2 separate regions of the Homo sapiens genome follow, and region 1 is linked to region 2. Evidence: promoter capture Hi-C in human tissues and cell types (Jung and others, 2019). All regions are on one chromosome and are shown on one strand. The core of a region is centred on a gene start or on the middle of the fragment in contact, and the rest is flanking DNA. Distances in the headings are between cores, read along the strand shown.

Region 1 (4,655 bases), core at 56-2,555, 630 kb before region 2:
CTTGTTGATGGGCTGTCATCGATCAACCCCTCTTTTTGATTGGGATTTAATTTGTGGTTTTTTTTTTTTACCAGCTGTAAGTTTGGAGTAATGCATGTAATGTAAATACAGTTCACAGGGCAACTTCGGATGTTCTAAATACTTGTAACATTTGCTCATTTTGAACAATATTGTATGAGTAGTGTGAAGTGATTTTTAAAATGTCTGTCATTTTTTTCATGTTCCCATTTTATTAAAAGGAGGGATGGAACTATATTGTGGAAGCTAATGTAATTTTTGTCTCTAAGAGGTTTTTTTTTCTTTTTAGACTAAAAGGGCTTAACAGAAGAAAAATTTATCTTTCTTAATTGCTAATTTAAAGGCTAATTTTTTCCCTAGATTGCTTAGTTTTGACTATTTGATTCCATCATATCAAGCTGTGAATTTCCTTCATTTTCTTGTTTTGAGGTTTCATTATTAAATATTGTCAAAAATAAGTGGCTCATCAACTCTCTTGAAAGTGTCTTATTGCTATGTTTTTTTTTGTCAGTATTTGACATTCTGAATTGAAGATGTGAGTTGGAAACCTGGTTAATTACCAAGTTACATAATCCTGTATTTATTAACTAGGTTAGACTACATACAGACTGTTCTTGAAAATGAAAGTGCTGTTATAACTCAGAAAACACATTCACTATGGCCCATTTCAAGTTAATTGAAGGATTGAGCCTTTGATAGTGCATTTGCCCTGTGCGGCTCTGTTACATGCATTCTTTCTAGGCAAAGATGCATTGTTACCATTCTCTCATGGTATGTTGAATATTTCATTAGATTCAATATTTCAATATTAATCCAAGCTTTTTTTTTGAGACAGGGTCAAGCCATCCTCCCACCTCAGCCTTCTGAATAGCTGGGACCATAGGTGTGTACTACGACACCCAGCTAATTTTTTACATTTTTAGTAGAGACAGGTCTCACCATATTGCTTAGGCTGATCTTTGAACTCCTGAACTCAAGCGATCTGCCCACCTTGGCCTCCAAAGTGCTAGGATTACAGGCATGTGCCACTGTGCCTGGCCTGAGTTTACAATCCAAATTCTAAATCATGGTTTGTGAAATATGATGGTGCAGTGAATAAGCTAGAGGCTAAAAGGGAGAAGCATGTTACTATTACTGATGAAACAGTGTTTGTGGGTTTTATATTCCTGGGGATCTCTAAATTGGCAAAAGGTTTCATGAGGGATTCATTTGTTGTCATTCTCTTGCGTCTGTGGACCTGGGTTATCATATTTTTAGAAAAGCTTTGGACTGACTTTTAAGTGTGTCTTTAGAAACCTGCCATTTAGGCTGGGTGCGGTGGCTCACGCCTTTAATCCCAGCACTTTGGGAGGCGGGCAGATCACCTGAGGTCAGGAGTTCAAGACTAGCCTGACTAACATGGAGAAACACCGTCTCTACTAAAAATACAAAAAATTGCAGGGCGCGGTGTCTCACACTTGTAATCCCAGCTACTCCTGAGTCTGAGGCAGGAGAATTGCTTGAACCCGGGAGGTGGAGGTTGCAGTGAGCTGAGATTGTGCCATTGCACTCCAGCGTGGGTGACAGAGCGAGAATCTGTCTCAAAAAAACAAAAAACAAAAAACAAAAAAATAATTAGCCGGGCATGGTGGCACATGCCTGTAATCCCAGTTACTCGGGAGGCTGAGGCAGAAGAATCCCTTGAACCTGGAAGGCGGAGGTTGCAGTGAGCTGAGATCGTGCCATTGCACTCCAGCCTGGGCAACAAGAGTGAAACTCTGTCTCAACAAAAAAAAGAAACCTTCCATTTTGCAGAGAGGTAACTAAGTGAAATGTGAGTTTGATCCCTTGGGAGGGAAAAAAAAGTGGAAATGGAAGATGGCAACTTTTTTCTTTTTTTTTAATTTGAGACGGAGTTTTGCTTTTGTTGCCCAGGCTGGAGTGCAGTGGCATGATCTCAGTTGACCGCAACCTCTGCCTCCTGGGTTGAAGCGATTCTCCTGCCTTAGCCTCCCGAGTAGCTGGGATTACAGGCATGCACCACCACGCCTGGCTGATTTTGTATTTTTATTAGAGACGGGGTTTCTCCATGTTGGTCAGGCTGGTCTCGAACTCCTGACCTCAGGTGATCCGCCCACCTCAGCCTCCCAAAGTGCTGGGATTATAGGTGTGTGCCACTGTACCTGGCCAGATGACATTTATTTCGGGTCTTTAAGACCAGTGAAAGATGTGATGTTTTCTAGTTGCTTTGAGTTAGTCTAAAGCAGTAATTTGCTGTATCTCTCTCTTTTTTTTTTTTTTTTTTTTTTGAGATCTCGCCCTGTCGCCCATGCTGGAGTGGGAGTGCAGTGATGCGATCTCTCTTCACTGCAGCCTCTGGCTCCAGGATTCTAGCGATTCTTCTGCCTCAGCCTTCCGAGTATCTGGGATTACAGGTGCCTGCCACCATGCCCAGCTTGTTTTCTTTTTGTTTTTTTGAGACGGAGTCTTGCTCTGTCCCCCAGATTGGAGTGCAATGGCATGATCTCGGCTCACTGCAACCTCCGCCTCCCAGGTTCAAGTGATTCTCCTGCCTCAGCCTCCCAAATAGCTGGGATTACAGGCACCCACCACCACGCCCAGCTAATTTTCATATTTTTAGTAGAGATGGGGTTTCACCAGGTTGGCCAGGCTGGTCTCAAACTCCTGACCTCAGGTGATCCGCCCGCCTCGGCCTCCCAGAGTGCTAGGATTACAGGCGTGAGCCACCGCGCCCGGCCCCAGCTAATTTTCTTATTTTTAGTAGAGACGAGGTTTCACCATGTTGGCCAGGCTGGTCTTGAACTCCTGACCTCAAGTGATCCACCAGCCTCTTCCTCCCAATGTGCTGGGATTATAGGTGAGAGCCACTGTGCCTGGCCATTTTGCTGTATCTCAATTGCATCAGGAAAGGCTCACTTAAATACAGTTCATTTATTAAGTCTGCCTTGCAAAGCAGTGTGCTGTGTGCTGGAGGGATGTTAATGTGTAAGCCACCATTGCTAACCCCAGGAAATTTATGAACTCAGGAGATCAGGTTTGGTAAAATAGCTGATAGGTAAGAATTGGCGCTGGGCGAGGTGGCTCATGCCTGTAATCCCAGCACTTTGGGAGGCCGAGGCAGGTGGATCACGAGGTCAAGAGATCGAGACCATACTGGCCAACATGGTGAAACCCCATCTCTACTAAAAATATAAAAATTAGCTGGGCATGGTGGTGCATGCCTGTAGTCCCAGCTACTTGGGAGGCTGAGGCAGGAGAATCATTTGAACCTGGGAGGCAGAGGTTGCAGTGAGCCAAGATCGCGCCACTGCACTCCAGCCTGGCGATAGAGTGAGACTCTGTCTCAAAAAAAAAAAAAAAAAAAAAAAAGGCAGTTTATACCCACTTTTTGCTAATCTGTCATGAGAGATGTTTCTTATTTCTTTGTGCATAGAGCAGTTGAGCTAATTCAGTTAAACATGTATAGAGTGTTAGATTAGATGAAAGTTACCATGATCAAAAAACTCGAAAGAGCTCTCAGTTTCATGGGAGACACACATACACACACACAGATAATAGTGCTATGTGACAAGTGCTGGGGGAACATGGTATGTTGTGTCTCTTTGTGAGGCAGAGATGACAGATGTCTGAGTCTTGAAGGAAAATTGTAGCTTTCCAGTTTGAGAAGACTTGAAGGGTGCTCTGGGCAGAGGAACAGTCTTGTGTATAGATCTGGAGGCATGCAGGTGCATTGGGGAATATTTTCTTGGAGTGGAGACAGGTGATAAGGCTGACAGGCTAGAGTAGGCGAGGCTTGTAGGAGTTTTTGGCTTCATCCTGTATGTGGTGGGGAAGCAATACCATGTTTTGTTTTTTTTTTTTTTTCAGAGGGAGTGACCCAATGATAATGATAACTGGGGCTCCCTGGAGAATGATTGGAAATTAGAAGACACCTTGATATTCTCAACCAGAGATAACAGAGCCCTGAGAGCAGGAAGGGGGTTAGTAGGGTGAGTGAGGTGTTTACTGAGGTACGGAGGAGAAAGAAAATGAGGCTAGAGTCTCATTCTAGGGACCTGGATTGGTGGAACTTTGGTCAGCGGAGAAGGGGAAGGCCACAGGGGGAATGCAGTGGAGTATAGAGGGGATGCTTGGTTTGGGGCTCATGGAGTTTGAGGAACTCAGCTTTGCAGTTAAGTGCAGGGAGAAGCCCTATACTTGTGAAAATGCAGCTCTGGTGAAGGCATGTCTCGTCACTTCCCACCTTCACTGTGGTAACGGGAAGAGGTGGGGTTTGCTCCTTTACCTTTGTTTTTTAGGGGGCAGAGGGAAGGGGTTGTTTCAGTGTTGCTCAAGTAGTTGTTATGAACAGTAAGAATACAGTGGGTCCAAATATTTTTAAGATAGGAAGAATAAAGCTGAACCCTCCAATGTCTTCTGAATTTCATAACTTTTCTTTCTTTCTTTTTTTTGAGACAAGAGTCTCGCTCTGTCGTCCAGGCTGGAGTGCAGTGGCGTGATCTTGGCTCACTGCAAGCTCCTCCTCCCGGGTTCACGCCATTCTCCTGCTCAGCCTCCCGAGTAGCTAGGACTACAGGCGCCCGCCATCACGCCTGGCTAATTTTTTGTATTTTTTAGTAGAGACAGGGTTTCACTGT
Region 2 (4,282 bases), core at 1-2,500:
GGCAGCGAGGACCCCGTACAGCCCCATTTGGAGTCTGCCGTGGCGGGGACGGGCTCCTTGGCCTCACAGCCCTACTCGGAACCTCCGAGGGGATCCTACACTCAAAAGGCGGACTCCGTGCCCTCTGAACAGTTCGATCCGGCGCCTCTCGCGGGAACCGAGTCTTCCGCGCCTCCTGGATCTTCTCCTCTGACTGAAGGAAGATGCTGGAACTAACAGGACCCAGCGGCTCCGTCCCGGGCGCAGGCTTGTCGCGCCGAATCGCGCGCTCGCGGAGGCTGGGCCACGGCCTCGGGGCCTTGGCGGGGGCCGAATTATCTCGTACGCGAAGTGGCCGAGACTTAGCCTTCTCCAGGACCACGTGGGTGCTGCGGGCCGTTTCCCGGGTCTCAGGTTCCGACCGCCCCGTGGACCCGAAGGTGGCGCTGCTCGGGGCCGGGGCCTCGGGGCTCAGTTTTCTGGCCAACGCCGTCTGCACGAAGCCCGCGGCGGCCTGCAGGGGGCCCAGCGACTCGTCCAGGGAACCGGTGCGCAGGAGCAGCCGGGGGCGCGGCGCGCCGGCCGCCCTTGGGGGACTCTGGGGCCGGGGGCGCAGCTCGATCTGACGCTTGGGCACTGTCCGGGGCCTGGCGGGCGCGGCGCCCTCCTCCAGAGCCACCTCCACACACTCGAACTGCGCTGGGGCGGCAGGACTTGGCCCACGGGGCCGCAGCTCTAGGTAGGTGGCCCAGCGGGAGCCACCATCGGGGACCTGGGACTGGCGTGGGACCGCGGCGGGAGACGCTGGCCCCGGCGGCAAGGGGCTGATGAAGGCCGGCTCCGTGAACTGTTGTTGCGCCTCGCGATCGTCTGCGCCGGAGCAGCCGAACAGGGGTCCGACGCCGAAGATGACTTCCATCTCCCCCGACGGCAGCGTGCGCAGCTGGGGCTGGGGTGGCCGTGGGCCGGAACCTGGGCCTCGCGGGAAACCCGAGCCGGGCCCGTGCCGCTGGCGGCTATTCTGGGCGCTGACGGACAGGCGAGGCTGCGCGCCCGCCCCCCGCCCAGGAGCCACCCAGGGCCAATTCGCTGGGCCTTTCGCGTCCGGCCCAACGTCCGGGGGCTCCGGAGAACCTGGAGCCGTGTAGTAGGAGCCTGACGAACCGGAGGAGTCCTGGCGCCGCGCGGGGGCCGTGGGCAGCTGCCTCGGGATCCCAGGCAGGGCTGGCGGGGCGAGCGCGGTCAGCATGGTGGGGCCGGACGCCGTGCACTATCTCCCTCGCATTCGCCTCCGCTGGTGGCGCCGGCACTGTCCCCGCCCCGCCCGAGGATGCCGTGGGGGTCACCGCGCCTTAAAGCGGCCGCGTCCACTCCTGAGCCAGCGGCGCCGGCAGCAGAAAAGACCTGGGCCCTGCACCCTTCCCTGTCCAGCCCCCATGCCCAACTAACCCCCTTCTCAGGCACAAGCCGGAGTACCTGGGGTGGGCTCCAAGCTTTGGCTGACAGGCAGGTGAGGGAATGGCAGGCCCAACTTTCAAAGCCTTGGAGCCAGGAGTTAGGCCCAACTCCACCTATCACAGGTGAGGAAACTGAAGCCCAGCAGGGATCCGCCTGAAGTCAGGCACTGCTGTGTGCAGTTCAGGCTGTGAGCGGGTGAACCAGACCTTCAGGCCAGGAGACTCAGGTAGGGCCAGCAATTTCATCTTCCCCTCAGCCCCGGGTGCCTTAGCATCACTGCAGGGGACCCCCATTGCCATTGCTGGCCTCAGCTAGAGCTCTTAAGGGTGCACACACCACCTTTCTTGACCCCAGTTACACTCTTCCTGATCCCCTTCAGTAGAGTGAGGAGCACCGCTAGAGGCTTCCCTGACTCCTCAGGGCCTCAGGAAGGTACTACCACTGGCTGGACCCACTGCCCTCGGTGGGACCTATTGGAAGGAGCTGGAGTGGACAGCTCTAGCTTTCAGTCTGCCTCAGCACCTAGAACAGGCCCTGGATACCGATGTGGGGTCCTACAGGAAGCTTCGAAGTAGCTTGTGGTCCCAGCTCCAAAGGCCCCTGCGGCCAGAACAGCCCTGTGCTCCCCCAGGTATTCACAAGGCCCTAACTTCAGCCCCCACAGCCTTAGGACCTGCCCTGGGGACAGGCGCTGGTGGGGAGGCAACCACCACCTGTCATTGTCTTACAACTGTGGGCACCACTTGCCCTTAAACTTCTGGCTTCAAGGTCCTGCTATGACTCAGGCCCCAGCTGGCCCTGGAGCAAGAGCACTGCCCCCTCCTGTGCACTTGGCCTCAAACCGACCCAGGACAGGCTACACTGGGCTAATCTGACCCCTGAAGTGGGTCCTCTGCCTGGGTGTGTCCCCATGATCACCTAGGGGGCACTCGGTGATGGCTTCTGAAAAAATGTTGCTGCTCCATCCCATCCAGCCCTGCCTGTGCAACTTGTGCAAATTGAGGTCCCTTCCCAGATTGTTTCTCCACCTTAAAACCACACACAGCATTGTCTTTTCTCTTCCTCCCATTGTGAAGCTCCCGTTTGGGGGAGGTGTCAGCAGGTGCAAATGCAATTTGCAGGTATAACATTATTGTCATGTGATGGAAACTGACTTCCCAAATTCCTTGTGGTTCTGGAACCCACTGTCTTTGAAGTTTCTGGTCAGGGCTTCCGGCCCTGTAGTCAAGTTGGGAAGTTAAATTTACCAGGACACTGGGAGTGGGGTGGAATATTACTGGGTAACCAGGGCTGTTTATATAGGAAGGGATTAAATACCCAAAGGAAGCGGTGGTGCCTACCAGACAACAAAGACCCAGCTCCTCCCCTAGGCTACAAGCCCCCACCTTGTGGACCCCTACCACTATCCAAGAGGGAGGGAAGTAGCAGGGGCTAGAGGCTGGGGACTCCCAGAGCAGAGAAGGCAGAGGCTGGGGATTACAGCCAGAGAACAGGAAAGCGGCGGCCATTTTATTTTTCCCTGGGATGCTGGTGGCTGCGGGCCTGACGTGTCCCTGAGGCTTTCTTATGCTTCTGGTCCAGCACCTGGGCCATGTAGCTCTCCTGCTGCTTCTGGATCCGGAAGTCAGACATGTGATTCCTGCAACGGAGCCGGCTGGTGGTGGGCTGTGGACAGCCAAGGGTAGGTAGGGGCCAGAGGTCTGGCTCCCCAGTGTCATCAACAACCCCCAGCCGGGCCCAGACCCCTCACCTGAAGATCTGTTTCTGCTGGCTGATAACTTGCTGCAACTCTTTAATCTCATTCTCTTTGCCATTAAGTATATCTTCTTGCTTTATAATGTGAGACTCAATCTCTGTGGGGGAGAGAGGCAGGGAGGAGGGGTGGTTCCCATCCCAGGGCTCCTTCCTGAGATAAGGCATTCCCTCACGGGGCTTTTCAGAGCTTGGCTCCCCACCCAAGAGTTCTCCATGAAGAACTGCTAATACCTTAGTATGAATGAGTTTATTATGCAGTCTTGGGGGAGTGCAGTGTTTGAGGATTGTTGTCAATGACTTCACAAGTCTATTCTGGACCAGAGGACCCACATGAGGGCAGGAGAAGGTCCTTGGAGAGAAGTGGGCAGGCCTGACCAAAGGCTGGAAGATGAATGGCGCCTGCCCTCAACTCCTGCAGGTCTTTACAGATGTTGCCTCCTTGGAGAAACTCTCCCTCATCAAAAAATTACATTTCCCAGTACTTCCTGTTCCCTCTTCCTGCTTTCTCTTTTTTTTTTTTTTGTATTTGAGACTGAGTCTTGCTCTGTCGCCAGGCTGGAGTGCAGTGGCATGATCTTGGCTCACTGCAACCTCCACCTCCTGAGTTCAAGCAATTCTCCTGCCTCAGCCTCCCGAGTAGCTGGGATTACAGGCGCCTGCCACCACGCCCAGCTAATTTTTGTATTTTTAGTAGAGATGGGGTTTCACCATGTTGGCCAGGCTGGTCTCGAACTTCTGACCTCAGGTGATCCACCCACCTCAGCCTCCCAAAATGCTGGGATTACAGGCGTGAGCCACCATGCCCAACATCCTGCTTTATTTTTCTTAACACTTTTACCTAACATACCATATACTTTACTCATCTGTCTTCTCCGCTGCTGGGATGTAAGGTCCACAAGGACAAGGATCTTTGTTTTATTCACGGCTTTATCCCTAAGGCCTAAAACAGCACCTGGCACATAGTAGGTATACAAAAAGTATATTTGCAGACCGAATGAACGGGATGTCCCTGGGGGTTTAGGACTCAGAAAAAAGACCTAGTTCAGTCATCCCAGTCCAAACAAACTTCCCGAGGGCTGGCTGGATGCCC

What was found. Contacts are between HindIII fragments. The study calls those that stand out against the background at their distance.
Region 1: a contact is called between a fragment that was not itself captured here and the fragment with the promoter of PROB1 in region 2, in 1 of the 25 tissues and cell types used here (dorsolateral prefrontal cortex).

What each region holds. Positions count from the first base shown.
Region 1 is chr5:138,762,585-138,767,239 of GRCh38, forward strand. The region is part of intron 1 of CTNNA1 (catenin alpha 1); the gene reads left to right. Among named protein-coding and RNA genes, the nearest start is that of CTNNA1-AS1, 11 kb to the left of the region's middle. The HindIII fragment of the contact is 4,511 bases long and covers 1-3,561 here.
Region 2 is chr5:139,393,854-139,398,135 of GRCh38, forward strand. PROB1 (proline rich basic protein 1) reads right to left here and starts at 1,251. Exons shown (of 1, transcript NM_001161546.2): 1 at 1-1,251. The coding sequence starts at 1,228. SPATA24 (spermatogenesis associated 24) reads right to left here. Exons shown (of 6, transcript NM_194296.2): 5 at 3,188-3,290; 6 at 2,914-3,076. The coding sequence ends at 2,947. RefSeq lists a silencer at 477-766. The HindIII fragment of the contact is 5,508 bases long and covers 1-1,736 here.